Linked DNA regions of Homo sapiens: regions 2, 3, 4, 5 and 6 are each linked to region 1. The links are contacts of gene promoters, found by promoter capture Hi-C in blood cells and fetal thymus (Javierre and others, 2016). All regions are on one chromosome and are shown on one strand. The core of a region is centred on a gene start or on the middle of the fragment in contact, and the rest is flanking DNA. Distances in the headings are between cores, read along the strand shown. Region 1 holds the start of OR1A2 (olfactory receptor family 1 subfamily A member 2). Region 2 overlaps SPATA22 (spermatogenesis associated 22). Region 3 overlaps OR3A3 (olfactory receptor family 3 subfamily A member 3). Region 4 holds the start of OR1E1 (olfactory receptor family 1 subfamily E member 1). Region 5 overlaps OR3A2 (olfactory receptor family 3 subfamily A member 2). Region 6 overlaps OR3A2 (olfactory receptor family 3 subfamily A member 2).

Evidence for each region. The method cuts DNA at HindIII sites, captures the fragments that hold promoters and counts their contacts. A CHiCAGO score of 5 or more calls a contact.
Region 2: a contact is called between a fragment that was not itself captured here and the fragment with the promoter of OR1A2 in region 1, in 6 of 17 cell types (M1 macrophages, M2 macrophages, M0 macrophages and 3 more). The highest score is 11.3, in M1 macrophages.
Region 3: a contact is called between a fragment that was not itself captured here and the fragment with the promoter of OR1A2 in region 1, in 3 of 17 cell types (M1 macrophages, endothelial precursors and M2 macrophages). The highest score is 9.2, in M1 macrophages.
Region 4: a contact is called between the fragment with the promoter of OR1E1 here and the fragment with the promoter of OR1A2 in region 1, in 6 of 17 cell types (M2 macrophages, M0 macrophages, M1 macrophages and 3 more). The highest score is 13.0, in M2 macrophages.
Region 5: a fragment that was not itself captured here is called in contact with the fragment with the promoter of OR1A2 in region 1 in 3 of 17 cell types (M1 macrophages, M0 macrophages and M2 macrophages); the score reaches 6.0 in M1 macrophages.
Region 6: a fragment that was not itself captured here is called in contact with the fragment with the promoter of OR1A2 in region 1 in 1 of 17 cell types (M1 macrophages); the score reaches 5.6 in M1 macrophages.

The regions. Positions count from the first base shown.
Region 1 is chr17:3,195,496-3,200,204 of GRCh38, forward strand. OR1A2 (olfactory receptor family 1 subfamily A member 2) reads left to right here and starts at 2,024. Exons shown (of 1, transcript NM_012352.3): 1 at 2,024-2,953. The coding sequence starts at 2,024. The coding sequence ends at 2,953. The HindIII fragment of the contact is 7,515 bases long and covers 1-4,709 here.
Region 2 is chr17:3,442,836-3,447,544 of GRCh38, forward strand. It overlaps SPATA22 (spermatogenesis associated 22), which reads right to left. Exons shown (of 9, transcript NM_001170698.2): 7 at 3,637-3,766; 8 at 339-436. Among named protein-coding and RNA genes, the nearest start is that of OR1E2, 11 kb to the left of the region's middle. The HindIII fragment of the contact is 668 bases long and covers 1,808-2,475 here.
Region 3 is chr17:3,413,325-3,418,033 of GRCh38, forward strand. The region is part of intron 2 of OR3A3 (olfactory receptor family 3 subfamily A member 3); the gene reads left to right. Among named protein-coding and RNA genes, the nearest start is that of OR3A3, 4.3 kb to the left of the region's middle. The HindIII fragment of the contact is 823 bases long and covers 2,321-3,143 here.
Region 4 is chr17:3,395,658-3,400,366 of GRCh38, forward strand. OR1E1 (olfactory receptor family 1 subfamily E member 1) reads right to left here and starts at 2,753. Exons shown (of 1, transcript NM_003553.3): 1 at 1,447-2,753. The coding sequence starts at 2,753. The coding sequence ends at 1,809. The HindIII fragment of the contact is 11,538 bases long and covers 1-4,709 here.
Region 5 is chr17:3,377,411-3,382,119 of GRCh38, forward strand. All of the region lies in intron 1 of OR3A2 (olfactory receptor family 3 subfamily A member 2), which reads right to left. It also overlaps the pseudogene OR1AC1P. Among named protein-coding and RNA genes, the nearest start is that of OR1R1, 6.2 kb to the right of the region's middle. The HindIII fragment of the contact is 4,906 bases long and covers 1-4,273 here.
Region 6 is chr17:3,351,155-3,355,863 of GRCh38, forward strand. All of the region lies in intron 1 of OR3A2 (olfactory receptor family 3 subfamily A member 2), which reads right to left. Among named protein-coding and RNA genes, the nearest start is that of OR1R1, 32 kb to the right of the region's middle. The HindIII fragment of the contact is 4,742 bases long and covers 1,089-4,709 here.

The sequences.
Region 1 (4,709 bases), core at 774-3,273:
TGAGTTATATAACAATTTTTTCAAATGAAGATTCAACAAGGTCAGACGTACAGGCAGAAGATAAACTGGATGAGTGTTTCTGTGAGAATCCCACATGTGGGGAACCATGAAATAAACCTGGGTTCAACTCAATAATTGAGTGCAAATTAATTGGTGCACAAAATGAATGATATTTTACAAAAATCAATTTGGAAGACATAAACATAAACAAGTTATGATTTTCCTCTTCAAAAACATCTTGCACCTGTAATCCCAGCACTTTGGGAGGCCGAGGTGGGCAGGTCACAAGGTCAGGAGATCGAGACCATCCTGGCTAACACGTGAAACCCCGTCTCTACTAAAAACACAAAAAATTAGCCAGGCATGGTGGCGCGTGCCTGTAGTCCCAGCTACTCGGGAGGCTGAGGCAGGAGAATGGCGTGAACCCAGGAGGTGGAGCTTGCAGTGAGCTGAGATCTCGCCACTGCACTCCAGCCTGGGCAACAGAGTGAGACTCTGTCTCAAAAAAAAAAAAAAAAAAAGAAAAGAAACATCTTGCAAACTACTTAGGTTTTAAGTGCAGAGTGTGGGGTTTGGTCAGACATGTTAGCAGGATGACTGAATATGGAAATATGGGAAAAAGAAATCGAGACCACAGATACAGACATGACAGTTTACTAAAGAATAGTTGAATCCACTGTGGACTTGGATTACTACAAAAAGAAATAAGGAAGACAAGGAAGAGAAGACTGCTATGGATTGAGTTTGCCCTCACCAAAACTCATGTTGAAATGTGATCCCCAGTGTGGGAGGTGTTGGGAGGTAAAGCCTAGTGGGAAGCGTTTGAGTCAAGGGGGTGGATCCCTCATGAGTGGTCTGGTGCTGTTCTCATGGTAGTAAGTGTGTTCTCATTCTCTCAAGACTGGATTAATCTTAAGGGAATGTTCCTACAGGAGTGGGTTGTGATAAAACCAGTATACTTCTCGGGTTTTCTCTCTTCCCCTGTATCCACTTCCCTGTTGACCTTCTCTGACAGGTTATGATGCAGCAAGAAAGCCCTTGCCAGAAGCCAGGGCCACGCTCTTGAATGTCCCAGCCTACAGATCCATGAGACAATTCAACCTCTTTTCTTATAAATTCCCCAGTCTCAAGTATTCTGTTATAGCAACACAAAATGAACCAAGACAAAGGCCAGTGGAAAAAGCACTGTGATTATGTATAGTTATGGGCTTTGAAAAGAGAGAAAAGCTGTCAAAAAGATAGGGAATATCTTTGAAAATCGAACACCTGTGGAGTAAGTTCACTGAGCTTGTTTTTCTAGGACCTAATGCCAGTTGTCTTTCTGTTTTAGAATCTGATGGCAGTGTAGACACCTCTGACTTCCTGGGCTCTGGGCTCACCCCGAGACTGGTTGGAGGAACAACTTTAAATTGTTCACTGCATTCCTACTATGATACATCCTTTGCACTGGAGGATTTTTTGTTTGTTTTTTTCACAAGGACTCCAAGAGGCTATCCTTTTCTTACCATGTGTAATAAAATTATTGTGTGAGTCTGGCTTTCCTATTCAATTATAAGGTCCTTGAGAACAGATGCTATGTCTTGTGTAACAAATAAGTGGATGAATAACTGTATTTTCACATATTTATTGTTTCTCTACAAAGTAAAAAAAAATCTAAGACATGAAACATGAAATTAGGTTTTTGTTATGTGATTAAATTATAGATATTAAGGTGGTGGTGCTACATTTGGAAGGACAACCATCTTTACTTCACAGATCGCTAACTTCTTTGACATGAGTGTCCAGGAGGTCAATGAGAGTTCGTCCCATTGACCAACAGAGATTTTACCCAAAAGTGCTGGCTATATTTATGATTGTAAAAACCAGGTATAGCCATGGCTAATGAAAAGTGGTGGATAAGTTTGACAGCAGGTGAATTTGTAAAATAATTAAAAACGTTTAAGTGGTAGATAAGGCAGACTATAACACACACTAACTGCGCTAATAATTCTGGGTTCCTCTCCCCTTTCATGCTGAAGAAGCCATGAAGAAAGAAAATCAATCCTTTAACCTGGATTTTATTCTCCTGGGAGTTACTAGTCAGCAAGAACAGAATAATGTCTTCTTTGTGATTTTTTTGTGCATTTACCCCATCACACTGACTGGAAATCTGCTCATCATCTTGGCCATCTGTGCTGACATTCGCCTTCACAACCCCATGTATTTTCTCCTTGCCAACCTCTCCTTGGTTGACATCATCTTCTCATCCGTAACCATCCCTAAGGTGCTGGCCAACCATCTCTTGGGGAGCAAGTTCATCTCCTTTGGGGGATGCCTAATGCAGATGTATTTCATGATAGCCTTGGCCAAGGCAGACAGCTATACCTTGGCTGCAATGGCATACGATCGAGCTGTGGCCATCAGCTGCCCACTTCATTACACAACAATTATGAGTCCACGGTCTTGTATCCTGCTTATTGCTGGGTCTTGGGTGATTGGAAACACCAGTGCTCTCCCCCACACTCTGCTCACAGCTAGTTTGTCCTTCTGTGGCAACCAGGAAGTAGCCAATTTCTACTGTGACATTATGCCTTTGCTGAAGTTGTCCTGTTCTGACGTCCACTTTAATGTGAAGATGATGTACCTAGGGGTCGGCGTTTTCTCTTTGCCATTACTATGCATCATTGTCTCCTATGTTCAGGTCTTTTCCACAGTCTTCCAAGTTCCATCTACCAAGAGTCTATTCAAAGCCTTCTGCACCTGTGGCTCCCACCTCACAGTTGTTTTTTTATATTATGGTACAACGATGGGCATGTATTTCCGCCCTCTGACCAGTTACAGCCCCAAAGATGCAGTGATAACTGTGATGTATGTGGCAGTGACCCCAGCATTAAATCCTTTCATCTATAGTCTGAGAAATTGGGATATGAAGGCAGCCCTACAGAAACTCTTCAGCAAGAGAATCTCCTCATAGCCGCTGTGAGATTACACGCTGGATACTGTAATGACCAAGTGGGATACACTTGGAAATCCAGCTCCAATGTCATTGCCCTTCAAGAAGCTCCTTTTGTTCTTTTGAGCCAGAAATTCCTCTACCAGAAATCTTGTAACGGATGTGATATTTTATTGAAATTATCACTTTGGACAAATTCCTGCTCTTTTTTGAGAGAGTGGCAGGCTGGGAATATCAGGTTCATGTCCCAGTTAGCAGAAATTTACTAGCAGAGTAAAGTTGAAAAAGTCTGAGTCTCAGCTTGCATATCTACATGTTAGGAAAATAATATCTGCCGGACTCTCTGACACAGCTTGTGTATATCAAAATGGCTCATGCTTTGAAGGCTGCAAATTACTATTCTAATGTAATCTTTACTGGACTTTTATGTCTAGCCACCCCTACTATACTTGTACTCTGGTGGCAAAAGCTGTGTTAACATATCACTTACTTTTTTAGTATTTTGATCATATAAAATATTGGTGGAAAGCAGGAAAATGTATAAAAATATTAGTTTCTGAAATACAATCTGATAATGAATAAACATAATCAAACTGCATAGTATTCATTCATGTATTATAGAGCTGGTATGTCTGTTAAGGTCAGTTAAGATCCATGCAGGAAACAGAAATCACACTTGGTATATTTATACCAAGAAGATTTGATACAGAGAATTGGCTACATAGGTGTATCCTGAAAGAGACTAAATAGTGAAAAGGCAGATGCTGATGCCACCCACAGATTACCAACGGCATGAAGAAGATACCTCAGGCAGAACTAGGAAAATAAAAGTGTAAATGTGGTGTTACCGAAACCTAGACCCTCCAAGGAGGGATGACCACACATTTGATGCCCAGGTCTCTGAACACAGGTACCAAAGAGCTGGCACTTGGCCCTTATCTGGTCAGCTAAGCCAAATTTTCACTTCTGGGGATCTGAGGCCTCAGCAGTAGTAGCGACTGTTTAAATGCTTCTGGTTGGTGCAGTTTATATTCACCTTTGCTACTGGGTATGGAAAGAATAAGAAGCACCCCAGACATAATTGTAATCATGAGCTTCTGCCTCTCATTGTGTAGCAGCAACACAATGTCTTTGGTAACTGGGTCAGTCACTCCAGCCAGTAGAGAAATCCCTTTCTCTGAATGACCCACAGAGCCATGCTACAATTTGGTTAAATCTCAGCAACACGACATTAAGTTTGAAAAATGCAAATCCCAAAAGATTATTATTAATGCTTTTTATATGGTTATGAACAACTGAAACAACTAAAAATGTGCTTTCCTGGAATATACATAAATGCCATTAAAGTGCACTAAAAACAAAAGAAAATGATGAGCATAGGATCAGGATGAGAGAAAATTCAAGGGGAGAGACTAAGGGGATGGAAATGGGGATAGCGTATGGTTAGATTTCGGTTGCTACTAAACTCATAATTTTCAGGTTGGGTGATGGGTCATTGGGTATTCATGGTAGTATGATAGACGGATGTATAGATAGGTAGATTGATTAAATAAAAGCTCTTCATGATGCAATAACGAGAGCATGAGAGTTCGTCTTGAGACAATGATTAGTAAGAGGGCAATAAGGGAGGAGCAGGTAGTGGTTAGATCAGGAGTGAAATTAGGCAGCCCCTAAAACAATCTTAGGATGAGACAGTGAAGACATAGACAAAGGGTGAGATAGAGTGGTAATATGGAAATAGAAAAAATAGGATATAGTATTTTTATGATAATAGTAA
Region 2 (4,709 bases), core at 892-3,391, 250 kb after region 1:
TTACCTACTTCTCTAGCACCCTGCACATACCTAGCTCCACCAAGCCATTCACCATATCACAGTGTAACATTTCTGTACCATTCTACCTGGGATTACAAACTCTGAGAGAAAGAGCCATTTGCCATTTACATTCCACTTTATATCCCTCAAACCCAGCACAGTACCTAGCACGTAGTAGGCTCTCTATATTATAAAAATAAACAACTTTCATATCAGAACTAAAACCAGTGTTAAAAGTACTAAATTGTTAACAGAATTTATATTTCAACTGAATTATAGCCTGCATGTTTATATTCTGTTGACATAGGCTTCGCAAAGAGTACTTTAAAAATACTCACGATTTCATAAAAGACACAAGGCAGAGTATTTTTCCCATCCCTCATAAGAAAAGTCTTCGAATAATATGGGCCAGGTGTAACAGCTGAATCAAGAACAGCTAAGCAATATTGAAATGGGGGAAAAAATGAATGTTGGTAAACTGCAAATAAAATTTAACAAAGAGAAGCTGATGTTTAAATAACTATCCATATCAACCTCTCATAGTGCTATTTATATAGCAATAAAGAAGACATTTTAAGAAGAGAAGATATTTCTCAGGCAGTTTTATAGGTAGGAAAACAAAACTTCTGACTCTCTCCAACTTAGGAACAGATTATATGCCAAGCTCATACAATTGACAATAAATGGCCATCTGAAACTTTTTCCTTAGAATGTGTAGTACAGAGTGGTTAAATCCCCAGAACAGTCTACAACATTATAATAATAAAATGCACATGTGTAACAAATAAGCATCATAATTTAATGAAAAAAGAAACATTGAATTAGAATCAGGAGACATGCATTCAGGTCCCAGGTACTTCAACTTACTAATATTTTGTGACTTTGAGCAAACTGGGTATTAAATTTATTTTTATTATATACATTTAAGGTATACAACATATTTTCATATACATACAATATATTTTCATATACCTATATATAGTGAAATCATTTCTACAGTGAGCAAGTTAACATACCCAACACCTTCCATAGTTATCCTTTGTGTGTGTAAGAGCACCTACAATCTACTCTTACCAAAATTTTAATATACAATACAATAATATTAACTATAGACCTCCTCTGTGCATTAAGTCTCTAGACTTACTCATCCTACATAATTGCAAGTTTGTACCCTTTGACCTACATCTCCCTATTCCCTCCTCCTTGAGTAAATTGTTTAACCACTTTCAAATCTGTTTCTTCACCTATAAAACGCAAATTGTAATTCATGTTTATCTCAAGAAACTATTATGAAGTGACAGCATTATTCATTTATTTAATAACCATCTACTGAGTACTGGTAGTGGGCATTTGTTATTTTGAGGCTGGCCTCCATTTCTGCTAAAAAGACCCAGATTATCCTTCAGGAAAATTCCATTTTTAGCCATATTATTTGGATAGGATTTGTCCCCATCCCCAGATCCACGAGTGAACTGTGACTGACTTAATCCAATCAGCATATTTTATTACTCAACTACGTAGTTCAGGGTTTCTGCAATAGGCATGTTACCAAGTCAGAAATGGTTATATGCAAAGACTCATTTGTTAGTTTGTAGGAAAGAGCAATCAGAAGAAAAATCTAAGAATATGACGGTGTGGTATAAGAATGTATAGTCTACAAAAATTTAATAATCAACTTGCTACCATAAGGAGAGAGTCAGAAGCTTCTGGAGAGACTATAGTGTGGAGCCTTAAGATGAAGCCAACGTTATGACTGGCCAGAAGGATGGAGAGAAATCACTGTGCCATCTCTTGAGCAGCTAGATCAAGCTTTGCCTGAAGTCAGAAACCTAGCCACTTTTCAGTTGCGTGAATAATTCTCTATGCAACACAATATTATACATAGCAATATAAATGAGTATTTAAAATCCACTAAAGTTGTTTTTTTCTGGGGGGTGCTTGCAACTGGAAGATACTTCCTATATACAGTGCAGTGTGCTAGACACTAAAGTGTAGTAAAATGAAGTATCTACCTTTGATAAGTTTAGAGTCTAGCCTAGGAACTCAGGATTATTATAGCACTATGAAAGCTAACCATCACATATAAAAGCATGGACCCCCTTCATTTCTTGATAAGAATGTCTATTGGTGTTTATAATGAGTATTGTGATATTCTTAAAAGGATTATTCTGGAGTGAACCTGAACAACTCACCAAAGAGAACCTGGGGAAATGAATGGAATCAGCATGTCCTTTTAATAGGCTCAGGTTATTTTAATATTTATATTCTGTAAATGAGGTGAGAGCCAAAGGCATCTTTCACACAGGAAAAAGCAATTTAGTGGGAAGTCCAACAGGGGTTAAGATCTTTGAAATAAGATGTTCTACCTCTGACAGTATTCTAGCTCTGACAGAAAACTGACATGAAATAGAATACCATCTGCTATTGCAGTTACGTGGCTACTGGTAAGAACTGAACAAAATAAGAGCTAAGTCAAGCTTCAACAGAGTAGTAACAGTCATGCCAACCAGCTAAGAGATATGCTTCAAGCAACATGAGTAGGACTTGATAAAGAATCCCTGAAGTATATGGGAGTTCCAGAGGCCAGAGGCATGGAAACCTCCAAAAAGCCAAAAACGAAAACTGAACAAAACCAGCCCAGCCAACACCTTGATTTTAGCACTGTGATACCCTGAGTATAGAACGCAGTCAAGCCCACATGGACTTCTGATCTACAAAACTTGAGTTAAGAAGTGGGTGTGGTTTTTAGCTGCTAAGTTTCCATTACTTTGTTACGCAGCAATTGAAAATGAATACAGCGTGCTTTACTCAAAGTCTGAGTCTCTATTGAATCCAATGTCACTTTATATAATAAAGCTTTTTCCTTAATGGTAACAAGAGAGAAACTGGAATCATTTTTAGGTGAAAGTTAAACATGTGAAATGACTGCACTGATAGAAATCTACATCTATATATACACACATTTATATTTACATATATATATATAACAGGACAAAAGGAAAAGGAGGAGGCTGTATCAGTTTCCCATTGCTGCTTACAAATTACCACAAACTTAGTGGTTGGCTTAAAACAACACAAAAGCATTATCTTAATAGTTACGGAGGTCAGAAGTCTATAATGAGTCATCAAAGCCATGTTCCTTTTGGAGGCTCTAGAGTAAAATCTATTTCCTTAATTTTTCCAACTTCTCAAAGATGCCTGCATTCTTTGGCTCATGGCCCCTTCCTCCATCTTCAAAGCCAGCAAGGTAGCATCTTTCAATGCTTTCCTTGTATAAGGGACCCTTGTGATTACATTGAACCCACCCAAATAATACAAGATAATCTTCCCATTTCAAGATCCCTAACTTAATTACATCTGCAAAGTCTCTTTTGCCATATAAGGTAGCATTCACAGGTTTTGGTAATTAGAATGTAGGCATTTTAGGGTGCATTATTCTGGTAATTAGAATGTAGACATTTTTAGGGAGCATTATTCTATCTACCACAGGGACTATTATTAAAACCAGTTCTTTGAATACACTTTAGGGAGTAGCAAAAAGCAGACTGTTTTATTTGGAAGAAAAAGGACTAATCAGACATTAAAACCTGTCCTCCAGAGAGTATTACTGAAGTATTTTTAAAGTATTTTACCTACCTAATACTTCAAAAAGAAGTACAGTTTTCTGTGCATGTTCACGCCAATACTTCATGCTTTCAATAACTGCAGAAATAATTCTTAAAGAACTAGCTTTTTCCTTAAACTGTAACTGATACAATGAGGTTTCCTTTTGAAAAAATAAGAAACATAGTATTAGAAAAATATTTGTTTTTTTCATCATACTCGTTTACCTTCTACGTAAAAATTCTAAGTCCTTACAATGGACAAGTGTGTAAAAAGAACTACTGAAAATTTTAGTATAGTTACTTCCCTAAAATAAGGCCATCAATACTATATTACAGATGGAGAAACCAGGGTGCACTTAGAGACAATCAAGAGGAGAATTATTTATATAGGTATTCATTCACTCATTCATTCATTGACTATTTTAAAGCATCATATGCCAGATCCTGTGACAAATATAGGTAAGGCCATTCCTTTCCCTAGTGCACTCACACTCTAGGGGACTCTAGGGAAGGAGCCAGACACATTCATTCATTCATTCGTTTCAAAAGTGTTTACTGAGCACCTACTACATGCCAAACATAGCTATTTAGGAAAAATTCATGGACAAAACAGTCAAGATATCTGTCCTCGAAGATTTTATTGTCTAGTGGAGGATTTAAAAAATAAGTAAACATATAACAGAATGTCAGGAAATGTACTTTTTTTTTAGGAAAAAAACACACAAGGTAAATGGAAAGAGAGAGAGATGGGGGTTATTATTTTAAGTGGGTTGTTGAATGAGGACAGTGGGAACAGCAAGTATAAAAGCCCTGAGATGGAAATGTTCTTAGCATTTTTGAAGATCAACTAAGAATACAGTGTGTTAAAATACTAATTTTCAAAGGCAAGGGGACGCTTTCCTTTGTGAGGGTGAGGGTTGTGAAGAACATATGATGGGACCTTTTTTCAAAATACAGGTAGTTTCTTCCCTCTTCCCCCGCTTAACGAAGATTCTAACATGCCTCCTGTTGATGATGGCCACAGTAAACCACTGTTACTAAGGTGATTATGTCATATAATTCTTGAGTACAAGGAAACATAAGATTGAGAACCACTGTGAAACA
Region 3 (4,709 bases), core at 1,482-3,981, 220 kb after region 1:
CAAGTCTTGAAATATTTGGGAAGTGGACTTGGAGGAAAACTATCGCAAAAATATCTTCTTCAAAAGAACATATGTACAGAGCTGTTACCTACCCACTGATTTGCCAATTTGCAAAGCATTTACAATTACCAATTTCATCAAGATAATCATACCAGAAGATGATTTCTTCCCACTCCCAAGTCATGTGATCTTAGAATTTTAAGGACCTGGATGGATGCGGTGGCTCACGCCTGTAATCCCAGCACTTTGGGAGGCCGAGGTGGGCGGATCATGAGGTCAGTTGTTCGAGACCAACCTGGTCAACATGGTGAAACCCTGTCTCTACTAAAAATACAAAAATTAGCCGGGCGTGGTGGCAGGCACCTGTAGTCCCAGCTGCTCGGGAGGCTGAGGCAGGAGAATCACTTGAACCTGGGAGGTGGAGGTTGCAGTGAGCCAAGATCATCAAAATCATGCCACTGCACTCCAGCCTGGTGATAGAGCAAGACTCCATCTCAAAAAAAAACAAAAAAACAAAAAACAAAAAAAAAAAACTTTAAGGACCTCTTAGAGATTACCGCATCCACATTCTCATCCATGTGGCATCCCCTCTGCAGCTTCCCCGTGGCCTGAGCACACACAGTGGAGACCTCATTTGGAAGGCTGGTCATCGAGACAGCCTCACATTGGAGACATCCTCTTGCTGTAGAGACTCCAGTGAGATGCACGTTATCCACATGAAACTGCGGGTCAGTCTTTAGAGACTACCTTGACTCTTTTTTTTGAGACAGAGTCTCAGACGGAGTCGCCCAGGCTGGAGTGCAGTGGCGCAATTTCAGCTCACTGCAACCTCCACCTCCCGGGTTCAAGCGATTCTCCTGCCTCAGCCACCCGAGTAGCTGGGACTACAGGTGCCCGCCACCGCACCGGACTAATTTTTTGTATTTTCAGTAGAGACGGGGTTTCACCATGTTAACCAGGATGGTCTCGATCTCCTGACCTCATGATCCGCCCACCTCGGCCTCCCACAGTGCTGGGATGACAGGCGTGAGCCACCATGGCCGGCCAGGATTTTTTTGAAGCTCCACATATTTCTACTGTGCAGCTGAGGTTGAGACTCACTGCAGTACATTTTCATAGAGCATCAGCGAGGAATGAATGCCCGGTGGATTTCCTAACATCTTTACAAAGAAAGAAAAACACGATGCAGGAAGGTAGTGTGAATTCTCCGAAACGATCTCAGGATTTTAAGAGTCACAAAACCCATCTGATAGTGCTTTGACAATTGGAGCAGCAATGCGATCAGAGACCACTGGACACATTCTTGGTAACTGGAGAAAAGACCCAAATCACCTCAGGATGTCAGAGAAAAGGCATTTACTGGCAAGCCAGGAGATAGCTCATCACCAGAAATGGAATTTGGTTGACAGGAAGTAAAATAGCCTGGGAGAGCTGCTGTCTACTCCCAGAACCCACCCAAGGCTCTTCTGTGGATAGCAACTACCGCAGCGTGCAAGGCAAGGGACTTTGAAATTTACAAGTCGTAGCCACTGAGAGGGTGGGAATAATTCGATCATTCATAAAAAGTATATTAATAATCATTAAAAAAATAATATAGGTAATATGTTAACATTTAAAATCTCCAATGAAAAACACTAAAACCCATTATATTACTACCACTCTTTGAAAACCACTGCAATAGCTCAGAGTTTCCTTCTGTTTATTATATGTGTATGTGGTAACAGTGAGATCATATTTTAAGTATACAGTTTTGTCTTTCCTTTTACTTACTGAATATCTTACCACAAGAATTTGCTTGATTTTAAAGTCATTTCTGTTAATGTGAATTTTTTACAATTATTTTTTCTAGTTTATTATGGTATATATAAGAAAACAACATATTATCGTATATTATTTTTATATTTACTTTTTATCTTGAAATTTTCCTATACTTTCATATTTTTAAGAGTTTTCCAGCTGGGCTCGGTGGCTCACACGTGTAATCCCAGCACTTTGGGAGGCCGAGGCGGGCGGATCACATGAGGTCAGGAGTTCGAGACCAGCCTGGTCAACATGGTGAAACCCTATCTCTACTAAAAATACAAAAATTAGCCAGACGTGGTGGCGGGTGCCTGTAGTCCCAGCTACTCGGGAGGATGAGGCAGGAGAATTGCTTGAACCTGGGAGGTGGAGGTTGCAGTGAGCCAAGATCATGCCACTGCACTCCAGCCTGGGTGACAAAAGCGAAACTCCAACTCAAAAAAAAAAAAAAGAAAAGAAAAACCAACAACTGTTTTATTGCTTTCTAATATATGGTCTTTTAATTTCTTGCATTGGCTAAAGCTTTCAGAACAATGTTAAATAATAATTGATAATGAATTTACTTGTCTCATTAGTGACTTGACTGAGAATGCTTTTAATGTTTTTCTATTAAACATGATGCTGTCTTTGGAGTTTAGTTCGTTTTATTTTATTTTTTATTTACTTATTTTTAAATTATTATTATTATTATTATTATTATTATTATTATTATTATTATTTGAGACCCAGGCTGGAGTGAAGGGGCACGATCTTGGCTCACTACAACCTCCACCTCCTAGGTTTAAGCAATTCTCATGTTTCAGCCGCATACCAAGTAGCTGGGATTACAGGCGAGCACCATCACGCCTGGCTAATTTTTGTATTTTTGATAGAGATGGGGTTTCACCATGCTGGCCAGGCTGTTGTCAAACTCTTGAGCTCAAGTGATCCACCTGCCTCAGCCTCCCAACGTGCTGGGATTACAGATGTGAGCCACTGCACCTGGCCTACTTAGTTTTATTTTAACATGTTAGGTAAGTACCTAACTATTCCTATTTTATTATAAGATTTCAGAAATCAAAATGAACATTTAATATAATCAAATGCCTTTTTAGCATCTATGGAAAGGATCACATAATCTCCCTTTACATCTGTTAATATCATAAAACATATTAATACATTTTCTCATTTTGAACTAACCTGGCATTCCTGACCAAATCCCAAATACTTATGGTTAATTATTTTGGTAAAATTACTGAAATAAATTTGTTAATCTTTTATGATTTCATATTTTCTTTACTTTAACATAAATTTTTTTCTTTTCTTTTGAGCTAGTTATGCACACTTCGCAAAAAAAAAATGGAAGCTTTCTTCTTTTATATTCTTGAATAGTTTGATCGTCATTACAAACTTCCCTGTGGCATTTTACGGAGATGTTGCTTTTCATTAGTGGCAATTGGAAGCTAGCTCTTTCTCTACTTTTTCTATAGTAGTCTGTTTAGATTTTCTAACTGTTCTAGAATTATTTTAATAAATCATAACTTCATAGAAAACTTTTATAACTTGGAGTTCAGAAAAATAGAATTTTATAATTTTTATTGAAATATAATAGTTGTATATATTTAGGGAGTACACTGTGATGTGTGTATATATATATAAAACAATGTGTAAGGATCAAATCAGGGTAATTTGGATATCCATCACCTCAAACATTTGTCTTTGTGTTGGGGACATTCCAATTCTTCTGGCTATTTTGAAATATACAATAAATTATTGTTAACTATAGTCTCCATACTCTATCAAATTCTAGAACTTGTTCCTTTTATTTAACTGTATTTTTGTACCCATTAACCAATTTATCTTTATCACTCCTTCCCCTCACCCTTCCCAGCCTCCAATCACCACCATTCTATTCTCTACTAGAATTTTTCAATTTTCTATTGGGCTATGTTTATTTTCTCCCTGTCAATTATTATTTTGCATGCTTATACTTTTTTGCTTTTACTCACGATTAGATCACTTAGTTAAGGTTTGTCAATTTCATTTTACCACAAACAACCTGTTCTCAATTTGTATTCATTCTTTTGTTTGTCTATTTTCTAATTTTTTACTATGGAATTCCTTTAGATTTTCTTAAATTTCTTTTGTTTTCTTATTCTAAATTCATGATTGGGTTAAGCCTTTTCATTTCAACATTTTTGCTGATTAACATGAACATATCTTTTGACTTACAATTGTAAGACAACTAAGGAAGTCAGCATACCTACACCATCTCTACATGTTCTTTCTTCTCCTCTTAACTTTATTAGATTTCTACAGTGTCATTGTTCAAACATTTATATTTTATTCTGAAACCACAATCCCCATATACGTCTTACAGTAAAAAAAATTCAGTGCTTATTACCAGTTATTTTGTTTTCTTTTTCCTTCCTCTTCTCTTTGTTGGCTGAAGTTTATCCTCTAGAAGTTTATTCTATGGGGCTCATAGAACAACTATTCTTGAGTTTTTGAGTGTCCAAAAACTTTAGGCTGTTGCTTGTATATTTGAGTTACAGTTTGTCTTAATAGAAAATTCTTTGGTTACATTTTCCTTCTATGAAGATTTTATAGGAAGTTTTCTATTTTCTTCTAGTCTTGAATACTTCTGTAGAGAAATTTAAGATAAGCATCTTCTCATTCTATTGTAAGTGACTTGATTTCTGCCAATATACCCAAAGGATTCATTATTTTTTAATTACAATGACCTTACTAGGACTATCTCAGAATGGGACCTGTTTCTGTCTCCTGGTACATGTTGTGACTTTTCAGTCTCTAGAAGCCGGTCTTCAGTTATTTCTGGAAAGTTTTATTTTGTCTAATTGTTTGTTCCTCCATGCTCATTTTTTACCTGAGTTCTGTTATCTCACATTTCACTTCCATCTGGTATCTTG
Region 4 (4,709 bases), core at 1,503-4,002, 200 kb after region 1:
TTATAAAAGCTCAACAATTGACACACTGTGTGATGTAGAAAGTTGCTGAGCTACGTACTTTTCAGCATGTAACACAGTGTTAGCATCTTCTCTACTTCCTGGGATCTGTCATGAGGGTAAAATACAAATAGAAATATGAAGTTATTTTGTAACATCCAAAATACCAAACAGAAGAGAGACATTCTTTTTATTTATTTTATTTTATTTATTTATTTTTGAGAAGGAGTCTTGCTCTGTCACCCAGGCTCGAGTGCAGTGGCGCAATCTGGGCTCACTGCAAGCTCCGCCTCCCAGGTTCACGCCATTCTCCTGCCTCAGCCTCCCGAGTAGCTGGGATACAGGTGCCCGCCACCACGCCCGGCTATTTTTTTGTATTTTTAGTAGAGACAGGGTTTTACCGTGTTAGCCAGGATGGTCTTGATCTCCTGACCTTGTGATCCACCTGCCTCAGCCTCCCAAAGTGCTGGGATTACAGGTGTGAGCCATCACGCCTGGCCAGAAGATAGACATTCCTTAAAACTGAGCTTTTTTAAATTTACCAGCAACTAGCTTCTTTCCTGGTGAAATAAATTTTAGGGCCTCAGGGTATTAGTTAATTCCAGGTAAAGACGAAATACACCGTTGTAGTAAAAGTGTTAGAAAAATGTATTGAAGGTCAGACCAGGTGAGAAAAGTCTATGGAGATGTGAAAATAAATCAGGAGGAGGGAGAAGAGGTAAAATGGTGTGAAAATTTGTGCAGGGAGAATATGTAGGAGACACTCAAAGGGCGGCTGGGAGGTTAAGCTGTTTAGATCTTATTTAGCACTAACCTAAGATTATAGAGCACTATTTAGAAATGATTCTATCCATGCACTTTGGAAGGCCTAGGTGAGCGGATCACAAGGTCAGGAGTTCAAGACCTGCCTGGCCAACATGGTGAAACCCCATCTCTAAAAATATAAAAATTAGCCCGACGTGGTGGCATTTGCCTGTAATCCCAGCTACTCGGGAGGCTGAGGCAGGAGAATTGCTTGAACCCAGGAGGCGGGGGTTGCAGTGAGCCAAGATCATGCCATTGCACTCCAGCCTGGGTGACAGAGCAAGACTCAGTCTCATAAATAAATAAATAAATAAATAAAAATAAAATGATTCCACAAGCCAGGCATGGTGCCTCACACCTGTAATCCCAGCACTTTGAAAGTCCAAGGTGGGAGGATCACTTGAGGCCAGGAATTCAAGACCAGCCTGAGAAACTTAGGGAGACCTCATCTCTACAAAAAAATCTTAAAATTAGCTGGGCGTAGTGGTGCATGCCTGTAGTCCTAGCTACTTGGGAGGCTGAGGCAGGAGAATCCCTTGAGTCCAGAAGGTTGAGGTTACAGTGAGCCACGATTGTGCCACTGCACTCCAGCCTGGGCAACAGAGTGAGACCCTGTGCGAAATAGAAAATAAAAATAAACAAAAAATTTAAAAATTTTTTTAATTAAACAAAAATGATTCTACAATCAAAGCAAAATTCTGAGTAACATAACAAAATCCTGTGATAATTTAAGAATGTGGGGCATGAAGACCATTTAAAACAGTTGTTCTTAAACTACATTTTTCCAAGATCACCTTGGGAAGACAAACAGGAAGTCTTAGCCAGGTCACCAAGACCCTCTTCCCTAGTTCAACTACTCAGCTATGCTTCATCTCCACTACATATTGAAAAATTATGTACGATGCCATTTCAACAAAAGGATGGTGAGGAAATAATTTAGAATAATATTCCAATATTAATATCAATATTTTACTGGATAAACTATGTAATAGCTCCAAGTGTTATCATCAGAGAGAGAAGAAAGTTTTCTTCTGATGAATGACTCTGCTCAGGGCTCCCTTCATGTCTCTGTTCCTCAGGCTGTAGATGAAGGGGTTCAGCATGGGGGTCACCACAGTGTACATCATAGCCATGACAGTGTCCTTTAGAGTAGAACTATTAGCTGATGAGCATAAGTAGAGACCAATAACGGTTCCATAGAACAGTGACACCACAGACAGGTGGGAGCCACAAGTAGAGAAGGCCTTGCAGATACCCTTAGAAGAAGGGACCTTGAGGATGGAGGAGACAATTCTTGCATAGGACCCAAGGATGAGTAGGAATGGGATGACAAGAATGAGCCCTCCCATGATAAATATCACCCATTCATTAACTCGAGTGTCAGAGAAGGCCAGCTTCAGCAGAGCAGACATATCACAGAAAAAGTGGGGGATCACATTGTCTGCACAAAAACACAACCTGGCCATGAGTAAAGTGTGTAACATGGCATGGAAGGTGGTCAGCACCCAGGACAGCGCCACCAGGGCGAGACAGAGCATGGGGCTCATGATGGCGGTGTAGTGCAGGGGGAAGCAGATGGCCACATAGCGGTCATAGGCCATGGCCACAAGGAGGAAGCTCTCCAGGTCTCCAAATAACAGGAAGAAGTACATTTGGGTCAGGCAGTCCGCATAGGGGATGGATGGGTCCTGGTTCTGCATGTTCTGTAACAACTTGGGAATGGTCACGGAAGAGAAGCAGAGGTCAGAGAAGGACAAGTTGCTGAGAAACAAATACATAGGCGTGTGGAGATGGGAGTCCAGTCGAATGAGGACAATGATGAGGAGGTTCCCCAGGAGGGTGGTAAGATACATGGCCAAGAACAGGGCATAGCACAGGTTTTGCTGCTCTGGTTGGATGGGCAGGCCCAGGAGCAGGAAGTCTGAGATGCTGGTTTGATTTTGTCCCATCATGCTCTGTCTCCAGTATCTTTAATGGAAAAACAACAGTATCCTTTAAAATCTGAATTTTAAAATGGAGATATTTCTGTGACACTTGGTCTGCTGAGTGTTCTGCGAAAATTATTTAACTGACATTATAATAATCATCTCTATACCACAAATATCTATAATTAGAATCTCTATAATCAGAAATGACTTAACTTTATCTTTTTTCTCTTCATTTATCTTTAACATGTAACAATATTCCATCCTTTCTAAAATACTCATCTATTTACTTCTGAAACATAAAGTGTGTTGGTTTCTCTCTTACCTGCCTCACCAGTAACTGCAGTTGGCTCCTCCTCTGTCAGTATCTTACATGTTGATATTCCTCAGGGATTTTTCTAAACTTCATTTTTTTTTTATAATTCTGCATAATGGCCAATAAAAACACATCTACTCCAATGGCTTTAATTGCCATTTAAAACTCAGGTGTAGGCTGGGCGCAGTAGCTCACACCTGTAATTCCAACATTTTGGGAGGCTGAGGTGGGTGGATCACCTGAGGCTAGGAGTTTGAGACCGGCCTGGCCAACATGGTGAAACCTTGTCTCTACTAAAAATACAAAAATTAGCCTGGTGTGGTGGCGGGTGCCTGTAATTCAGCTACTCAGGAGGCTGAGGCAGGAGAATTGCTTGAACCTGGGAGGCAGAGGCTGCAGTGAGCCAAGTTTGTGCCATTGTACTCCAACCTGGGTGACAGAGTAAGACTCTGTCAAAGAAAGAAAAGAAAGAAAGAAAGAAAGAAAGAAAGAAAGAAAGAAAGAAAGAAAGAAGGAAGGAAGGAAGGAAGGAAGGAAGGAAGGAAGGAAGGAAGGAAGGAAGGAAAGGAAAGGAAGAAAGAAAGAAAGAAAGAGAAAGAAAGAAAGAAAGAAAGAAAGAAAGAAAGAAAGAAAGAAAGAGAAAGAAAGAAAGAAACAAACAAACAACTCAGGTGTTCAGGTGTAGCGTTCTCTAGTATACAGAACTTAGTATCCTGAGTCTCAATGATTAACATCTCTTGGATGGATCACAGGCATCTTTGGCTTGACAGATCCTAAATGACATTCTGATCTCACCCTGCTCCTCTTCTAACTCCATCCTCCTCCACTCTCTCATGTTTGGTGAATGGAATCCAGGCTCAAGTCAGAAACCTAAGGTTTGATTTCATTAATTCATTTCTCTCACAGTCAATATCCAATCTAGCAAGTCCTACAGATTCTGCACTTCATTCTCTTTCTAATTCATCCACTCCTTATCCCAACTACCACAACCCTAAACCAGGTGGAAATCTTGTATTACCTGGACTATTGAAACTGCTTCTCAATTCATCTTCCTGCCCCTGTGTTTCAACAACCTTCTCTTCCAACAATCTTCATTTACACTGTGGCATTCTGAGATGAAAATCTGATCATCCCTCTCTTGTGATTAAATATTTCGTGGATTATCATTGTTCTTAAGATAGAGGCAAAATTCCTTTCAAGAGCACAAAGGATGTTTCATTACCTGACCAACACCTGCCTCCACAGCCTCACCTGGCCCCACAATGACTCTTGCATCCTCTTTTCAGCAATGCTGGACTTATACGTCATAATTTCTTGCCTCCAGCCTTTCATACTTGCTATTCCTCCTACCTAGCACCTATCCCCGCTATGCCCTGTCTTCATCCGGCTCATTCTCACTTATCCTTCAGGTCTATTACATGTAACTTGCTCAGCTAAACCTTCCCTGTGTCTCTGTAAACCAAGTGAGACCTGCTTCTATGCTTCCGCAGCATCTCATACTCATCCAATAGCACTCCATGCTTTGACTACCTGTTGACAGCTGACTTCCTTACCAGACTGTAAACTCTGTGCCTGAAAGGCCATGTCTGCCTTCATAACTGCAGCAAGACAGTTGCGGCACTTGGCGTGGTGCCCAGATATTGCTGATGTTTTCTAAATAGCTGTTG
Region 5 (4,709 bases), core at 571-3,070, 180 kb after region 1:
TTGTTGCTTATTTTATTAGCTTTATTCTCTCTCTTCCTTAATGGGCCCACATTCTTTGCCTACCTCACTGAGACTGTAAGTGGAAGAGACCATTTTGGCCCTGAGATTTATCCCCGAAGACTCCTTCAGGCGTTTGTTCCTCGGGCTTTAGATGAATGGGTTTGGCATGGCCATGACTACTACGTACAGCACGGGGGCTGCTGAGTCTCCTCTACCAAGCTGTTCCATTGACCAGGGAGATGACACCAAGGTGAGGGCTGCAGGCACTTCTCTGGGGAAAAGAAGACTCTGAGGATAGCTGAGACCATACAGATAAAGAAAAAGATGATATAATCCAGTATGACAGGGCCAGTAGAAAGGCTAAAATTAAAAATTGATAATACCAGGTGTTGACAAGAATGTCGAGAAATTGGAACTCTCAAATATTCCAAAGGGGATGTAAACTAGTCTGACCATTTTGGAAAACTATTTATCAGTTTCTAAGAAAGTGAGACATATAACCACCTTTTGACCCAGCAGTTCTGTTCCTAGGTATATAACAAGGAGAAATGAAAACATAACAAGGAGAAATGAAAACATAACAAGGAGAAATGAAAGCACCATCTGATTGGCTGAATGGTCATCAATGAGGTTCGCACACCAGGCTGCTGACTTCACCTGGAACCGGCAGCCTGGCCCCCAGGCTTCAGGCCATCCCTGGCTTGAAGGTGGGGTTTCACCAGGACCTGCCCCTTCCCACCTAGGAACCTGTCTGCCTTTTACATGCTGTCTGTGGTACCCAGGCTGTCCACACTGAGAGGCATCTGTAGGCCCATGCCAAGCTGCCCTCACACCGCCCTCCCCAGACTCCCCTCCCACACTCTTTGGTGTCCAAAGTCTGGAGGGGGCAGAGGCAGCAGGGGGCTGGCACGTCAGCCCCCTGAGTGTGTGCACACCTGGCTGGGTTGCAACAATGCCCAGGCTCGGCCACAACTTTGCTCTGCCCTGGAGCAGGTGCCAGGAGTAGGGAGAGGCCAGAGCAGAGCAGGCACTTTCAAGCCCGTGGGGGCAGGGGGCTTCCTGGACCCCTAAGAGTGCAGGGATGCTTGGGTCCAGAGCCACGGCTGGGCAGCTGCAGCTGCGCCTAGGAGTGTGGGGCTCCTGCCTCACCAACTTGGTAGGGGGTGGGGCTCCCACCTCTTCCCAGCCCCTGCCAGCTCCACCGAGCACGCAGCCCTGGCCGCACCTCCCCTGCTGCAGCTGGCATCCCCGCAGCAGCTGCTCCAGATGGGCCACCACTATCACTTCTGCATAAACTATGGTTCCCAGGTACTTCCCACATGCCCAAATCCTTCCACTTTTCTTCTTGTTTAAATACCACTTCCCCCCGGAAGTTCTCCCTGAACACTCAAGCCACAGGTGCAGTTTCATTTCAGTACCTAGGGCACTTATTGCCAAGCACTGTAACTTGCTGTGCCCAAGTCTTCTCCCCGCAACCTGTTAACTATGAAATGTGCATCCTCAAAACTTTATACCCTCAAACATGAAAGAATCATCAGTTTACTCCTCTCAATTTACCAGGGAGAAAGCTGAGACTCACAGGGGAGAAATGCCTCACCTAGGGTCAAAAGCTAGTGGGGACTTGAATATCTCACTCATTCCACAACTTCTCTGACACTCCTCAGAGATCAACAAGGCTGGGACCCCATATGCTGAGTAAATATTATCAAGTGAATGAATAGTCAAGCTAGAGAAGTTCATTCCATGGGACGTGACTATCAGTTCCACAAGAACTAAAAGGCATATGGCCCAGGTAGAGAAAGGAAAGATGAGAGAACAAGACTGTCCTCAGGAGAAACTGGTCCAGCCTGGGAAGTTAGGTTGGCCCCTCCAGATCCAGGAGGGCTACTCTGCCGAGGCCAATGAGGACACGACAGTCAAAAGGCTTCAGAACAAGGAACAGAAGTCATTTTGCTCTGACACCAGCTGGACAAGGCTGAGATCCCCACAACTCCAACCTGAGCAAAGGAGTAACAGAGAGCGCCAACCCTGAAGTCCACAAAGAACAGCTCCACATGGGGTGTGAGGCTCGGCTGCCACGATCCCTGAACCTACTGTCCTGGAGCAAATCTGCTGGCAATTCCAGCCCTTCCTCTCCTCCCCCAGGTTCTGGGTGAGGTGGGACCTCAGAGGTTGAGGCAGGCCTGGAGCTCAGGGAAGGGCACCCGCAGCTCCACTTCACTGCTCACAGTGGAATTAGGAGGAAGAGCTCTTCCCCGAGCAGAGGAATCACATGGTGAGGTCGCAGCTTTAGGGGTGATGGTTGTAGCTCAGGGTGGGAAAAACCAGGGAGAAGAGGCCAGGGTCACTAACACACCCCGTCCCTCACATGCCATCCTGCATAGAAGGGGCAGGGGAGTGACAGCATCATCCTCTGAGCACAGCAGACCAGCACAGCCAGTCACCACACTGAGAGGCATCTACCTCAGTTCTGGCTTCCCACACACCTCGATGCCCCCTCTCCTACTCAGTTCTCTAGCACAAGAGAGGAGGGGAGGCTGCACTAGCTGAGGACTGAGGAGTCCTCAAGGGGCCAGTGGTTTCAGAGGCCACCATAACTCTCCACAGAATTTCCAGGCTAATCAATTAGTGGGTGGCCCCTCTCCTCCCAGCCTGCAGGCCACTCCTCCTGCCTTTGGCTGCTGAGGCCAATCTTCCTCTCCAGGGCACACCTGCTGTAACTCCCCCTTTGCCTGAAGCAGATTAGCCTCTGTGGGTGAGCTGTGGAGGGCAGAGCTCGTTAATGCTTGCAGACTTGCTGGGAGGAAGCAGAAGAATCATGGCAGAAAGGGAAGGGGAGTAAATCAAGCGTCTGAGGGAGAGCAATACACGAGAACGACCTGCCAACGTGTGGCACGCAGCACAGGGAAGTGGATGAACCATAGGTGGGTTCGGAGCCCAGGATCTGGACTCTGACTGATCCCCTGATTACTGAGCGACTGCAGACACAGTTCTCCGGGTGCTGCTTTCCCTGTCTATGACATGGGTGTTGGGTGGAATGATATCTAGGAATCATTGCCAGCTGCCTGATACCAGGATAGAATGGTGAGTTCTTTGTCTTTGTCTTACTCATCTCCGAATGCCTCCCCCACCAGTGCTCAAGTACCTGCCTGGCATGGAGTAGATACAACAGTTAAGATGTTTGAATACATTATTGAAGACAAATGAGTAAGAAGTTGGCAGAAGGAAGTAGAGGAGAAGAGATCCTTGGAATACAAAGGGCTCATCCAGGACTAAGACTGTGGTTAAAGAGAAAGCTACTGGGCACACCATCAAGAGAAGAATCTGGGCTGGCCAAGGAGAGACTGGATTTAAGGAATTGGATAGAAACCCCCAGGCCTGAGAGCGTGGGGGCCACTGATGGTTTCCCTGTTTACCACTGCCCACTCTCCACTCTGTTGAGGCAGGCGGACTTGAGGCAAGAGAGAGCGAGAGGAAGGAGGGAACCGGTATGTGGATGTTTGCGTGTAAGATTCACGTGTGTGCCTCAGTGTGTCTGGGAGCATCTATTGAGGTTTTATGTCTCTGGCATTTGTTTGGGGGCAGGGCATCTTTGTTGGGTGTTGCATGTGTATGTGGCATATATGATTTATGTTTTTCTCTAGTGCACGGATCTCTGTAGGTGTCTACGTCTGTGTGTAAGGGACTGAGTGTTTGTATGTGCCCATATATTCATATATTCCTGTCCCGGTGGGTGTGCGTGTCTCTGGCATGTCTGTGTGCCTGGACATATCGGGATACATCCGTGTGTGTCTGTGTGCAAGCGTGTATCCCTGTGCACTTCCGTGTCTTGGGGCATCTGAATGTGCGCTCCAAAAGTGACCATTTTAGCATGGAGTTGAAGGCAGTGAGCTGCCTCAAACATAGGGTTTTTTTTTTTTTTTTAAATTCTAGATCCTAAGCATCCCTGCCTCATTTTGCGACCTTAAATAATCAATCCTTCCTGCCCAATTCAAAGCAGACACCTGCCTGACCTGGGCCTGAGGAAAGGGCTATGTGTCCACAACAGCAGCTCAGCATCCAGGGAGCCCAGCCCTGTGCCTCGTGTTTCAACAGGAGCTGACACAAACTCAGTCATCATATCTCCCCATCGCCTGAAGTCGTCAGGAGATGGGGAAGGAAACTGACATTTATGAAGCACCTACTATTTGCAAAGTGTTTATAAGCAAACTGTGAGGATGGTATTTTTATCCTACTTTTGGAGAAAAAAAAATGAAGCTCAAAGAGGTTAAGAAGCTTCCTGGAGTTTCTCTTGTATTTCCTTTGTACGTGGAAAGGAATTCTTTCTAGAATTCTCTCCTACTCCTATGTGTCCACTGAATGCCTTGTCCTTCAAGCTCGCCCTGCTCAAATGCCACCTCTTCTGTGGAGTCTTCCCTGACTTTGCCAGGAAAGTTAGGACAAAACCTTGTGCCGAGCCTGAGGTCAGATGAGGAAAGACAAACATTTGTCTTCAGAAGGCTCATCATCTAGCAGGGAAGATCAGCATTACAGAAAAAACAAAAACAAAACAAAAAACAGAAAAGAAATCCTCACTTTATACCAGCAAATGAGGGCCAAGTTCCCAATGAGAGATACAAGAAGCAGGAGTGAGGTGTTCGTGTGGGCTGGGAAGTCAAGAAAGGAGGTGGGGTTTCCTGGAGGAGTGGAGCTGGGCGGGGTACTGGGAT
Region 6 (4,709 bases), core at 2,210-4,709, 160 kb after region 1:
TTCAACAGTGTTGGAAGTTCTGGCCAGGGCAATTAGGCAGGAGAAGGAAATAAAGGGTATTCAATTAGGAAAAGAGGAAGTCAAATTGTCCCTGTTTGCAGACAACATCATTGTATATCTAGAAAACCCCATTGTGTCAGCCCAAAATCTCCTTAAGCTGATAAGCAACTTCAGCAAAGTCTCAGGATACAAAATCAATGTACAAAAATCACAAGCATTCTTATACACCAACAACAGACAAACAGAGAGCCAAATCATGAGTGAACTCCCATTCACAATTGCTTCAAAGAGAATAAAATACCTAGGAATCCAACTTACAAGGGATGTGAAGGACCTCTTCAAGGAGAACTACAAACCACTGCTCAAGGAAATAAAAGAGGATACAAACAAATGGAAGAACATTCCATGCTCATGGGTAGGAAGAATCAATATCGTGAAAATGGCCATACTGCCCAAGGTAATTTATAGATTCAATGCCATCCCCATCAAGCTACCAATGACTTTCTTCACAGAATTGGAAAAAACTACTTTAAAGTTCATATGGAACCAAAAAAGAGCCCGCATCACCAAGTCAATCCTAAGCCAAAAGAACAAAGCTGGAGGCATCACACTACCTGACTTCCAACTATACTGCAAGGCTACAGTAACCAAGACAGCATGGTACTGGTACCAAAACAGAGATATAGATCAATGGAACAGAACAGAGCCCTCAGAAATAACACCGCATATCTACAACTATCTGATCTTTGACAAACCTGAGAAAACCAAGCAATGGGGAAAGGATTCCCTACTTAATAAATGGTGCTGGGAAAACTGGCTAGCCATATGTAGAAAGCTGAAACTGGATCCCTTCCTTACACCTTATACAAAAATCAATTCAAGATGGATTGTATGTCTTCTTGTGAGAAATATCTATTCTAATCTTTTGCCCATTTTTTAATCAGGATTAGATTTTTTTCCTATAGAGTTGCTGAGCTCCTCATATATTCTGGTTATTAATCCTTTGCCAGATGGGTAGTTTGCAAATATTTTCTCCCATTCTGTGGGCTGTCTCTTCACTTTGTTGATTGCTTCCTCTGCTGTGTAGAAGCTTTTTAACTTGATGTGATCTCATTTGTCCATTTTTGCTTTGGTTGCCTCTGCTTGTGGAATATTACTTAAAACATTTTTGCACAGACCAATGTCCTGAAGAGTTACCCCAATGTTTTGTTTTAGTAGTTTCATAGTTTGAGGTCTTCGATTTAAGTCTTTAATCCATTTTGATTTGATTTTTATTTATGATGAGAGACAGGGGTCTAGTTTTATTCTTCTGACTATGGATATCCAGTTTTCCCAACACCATTTGTTAAAGAGACTGTCTTTTCCCCAGTGTATATCTTGCATCTTTGTCAAAAATGAGTTCACTGTAGGAGTGTTTGTTTCTGAGTTCTCTATTATGTTCCATTGGTTTATATGTCTGTTTCTATGCCAGTACCATGCTGTTTTGGTTACTATAGCTCTGTAGTATAATTTGAAGTAAGGTAACATAATTCTTCCAGTTTTGTTCTTTTTGCTTCAGGATAGCTTTGGCTAATCTGGGTCTTTTGTGATTTCATATAAATTTTAGGATTTTTTTCTATTTCTGTGAAGAATGTCATTGGTATTTTGATAAGGATTGCATTGAATCTGTAGGTCACTTTGGGTAGTATGGGCATTTTACCAATATCGATTTTTCCAATCCATAAACATGCAATATCTTTCCATTTCTGGTGTCCTGTTCAATTTCTTTTATCAGTGTTTTACAGTTTTTCATTGTAGAGATCTTTTTCTTGGGTTAATTCCTAGGTATTTTTATTTGTGGCTACTGTATAGGGGATTACATTTTTTATTTCCTTTTCAGATTGTTCACTGTTAGCATATAGATATGCTACTTTTTTTATGTTGATGCTGTATCCTGCAACTTTACTGAATTTGCTTATAAGTTCTTTTTTTTTTTTTGAAGGGTATATCTAGGTTAATTTTAATAAGTGTTGCCAGGTTGCTTTCCAAAAATGCCATAACAATTTATGTTTCAGCAACAGTGAATTAGAGAATGCTTTCCCTGAATCTTTGCCCAATAGTTCTAATTGGTAGAGTCTTTAGGTTTTCCCAAATACAAAATCATATCAACAGGGGTAATCTGACTTCTTCTTTTCCAATTTGGATGTCCTTTTATATGTTTCTCTTGTCTAACTGTTCTAGCTAGGACTTCCAGTACTATGTTGAATAACAATAGTGAAAGTGGACATTCTCGCTGTATTCTGGATCTTAGAGGAAAGGCTTTCAGTTTTTCCTAATTCAGTATGATACTATTCATAGCTGTGGATCTGTCATATACATGGCTTTCATTATGTTGAGGTATTCTCCTTCTATATCCAGGTTTTTGAGGGTTTTTATCATAAAGGGATGTTGGATTTTATCAAATGATTTTTCAGCATCAATTGAACTGTTCATATGGCATTCTGTTGATATGATGCATCACATTGATTTTTAAATTTTATTATTTTAAATTTCTTGTGGGTACATGATAGGTATATATTTATAGGGTACATGAGTTGTTTTGATACAGGCGTGCAAAGTGAAATAAGCACATCATGGAAAATAGGGTGTCCATCACCTCAAGCACTTATGTTTCAAGTTACAAACAATCCAATTATATTGTTATTTTAAAATATACCATTAAGTTATTATTGACTATAGTCACCCCACTGTGCTATCAAATAGTGGTTCTTATTCATCCATTTTTTTTTGTACCCATTAACCATTCCCAGCTCCATGGTTATCAGATGCTGGGAAGGGTATCACATTGATTTATTTGCACATTTTGCACCATCTTTGCATCCCTGGGATAAATCTCACTTAGTTATGATGAGTAATTTTTTTAAATGTATTGTTAAATTTGATTGGCTAGCATTTTGTTGAAGATTTCTGCACCAGTATTCATCAGAGATACTGGCCTGTAGTTGTTGTTGTTGTTTTTAATGTGTCTGTGTCTGTTTTTGGTATCAGAGTAATACTGGCCTCAAAGAATGTTTGTAACATTTCCTCCTCCTCTATTTTTTGGAACAGTTTGAATAGGATTTGTATTAGTTTTTAAATATTTGCTAGAATTCAGCAGTGAAGCCATTGCGTCCTGTGCTTTTCTTTTCCTCTTTTTTGAGAAAGGTTTTGCTCTGTCACCCAGTGTGCAGTGCAGTGGTATAATCATGGTACACTGTAGCCTCAACCTAAAGAAAAGTAAAGGTTTTTATTTATAGGAGACCTTTTATTATGACTTTCATCTCATTATTATTATTGGTCTATTTGTATTTTGGATTTCTTTATGGTTTGATCTTGGTAGGTTGTATGTGTCTAGATTTTTGAATTTATTGGCATATGGTTGCTAATAGTAGTCACTAATGATCCTTCAAAGTTCCGTGGTATCAGTAGCAATGAGTCTTTCTTCATCTCCGATTTTATTTATTTGGTCTTCTCTCTTTTTTTCTTAGTCTGGCTAAAGGTTTGGCCATATTGTTTATCTTTTCACAAAACCAATGTTTTATTTCACTGATCTTTTATATTATTTTCTTCATTTCAAATTCTCTTATTTCTGCGATGATCTTTATTACCTCCCTTCTTTTACTAATTTTGGGGTAGGTTTGCTCTTGCTTTTCTTGTTCTTTAAGATGCATCATTAGGCTATTTATTTGAAGTTTTTCTTCTGTTTTGAGGTAGGCATTTATACCTATAAATTTCCCTCTTAGTATTGCTTTTGCTCTATCCCATAGGTTTTGGTATGTTGTGTTTGCATTATCATTTGTTTCAATAAATTTTTATTCCTTCTCAATGTTGTTATTGGCCCACTGGTCATTCAGGAGTGTACTGTGTAATGTCTAATGTGTTCATATAGTTCCAAAATTATTCTTATTATAGTTCCATATAGTTCACATAGTTTCCAAAATTCTTCTTATTATTGATTTCTACTTTTATTCCATTGTGGTCAGAGAAGATGCTTGATATTATTTCAATTTTTTGAATGTTTTATCATTTGTTTTGTGACCTAATATATGGACTATCATTGAGAATGATCCATGTGCTGAGGAAAAGAATGTGTATTCTGCAGCCTTTGGATGAAATGTTCTGTAAATATCTATTAGGTCTATTTGTTCCATGGTGAAGATTAAGTCCTATCATTTTTTGTTGATTGTCTGTCTGGAAGATCTGTCCAGCACTGAAAGTGGGGTATTGAAGTCTCCCACTATTATCATGTTGGCATTTCTCTCTCTCTCTCTCTCTCTCTCTCTCTCTCTTTAGCTCTAATAATGTTTGCTTTATATATCTGGGTACTACAGTGCTGCGTACATATATATTTGCAATCATTATATCCTGTTGCTGAATTGACCCCTTTACCATTATATAATGCCCTTCTTTTTCTCTTGCAGTTTTTGTCTGGACATCTATTTTGTCTAATGTAAGTATAGCTACTTCTGCTCTTTTTTGGTTTTCATTGGCATGGAATCTTTTTCCATCTATTATTTTCAGTCTGTGTGCATATTTATAGGTGAAGTGTGTTTACTGTAAGCAAGAGATCACTGGGTCTCATGTATTCATCCACTCAGCCACTCTGTCTTTTGGTTGGAGAGTTTAGTTCATTTATATTCAAAGTTATTATTAAGTAGGGACTTACTCCTGCCTTTTTGTTATTTGTTTTC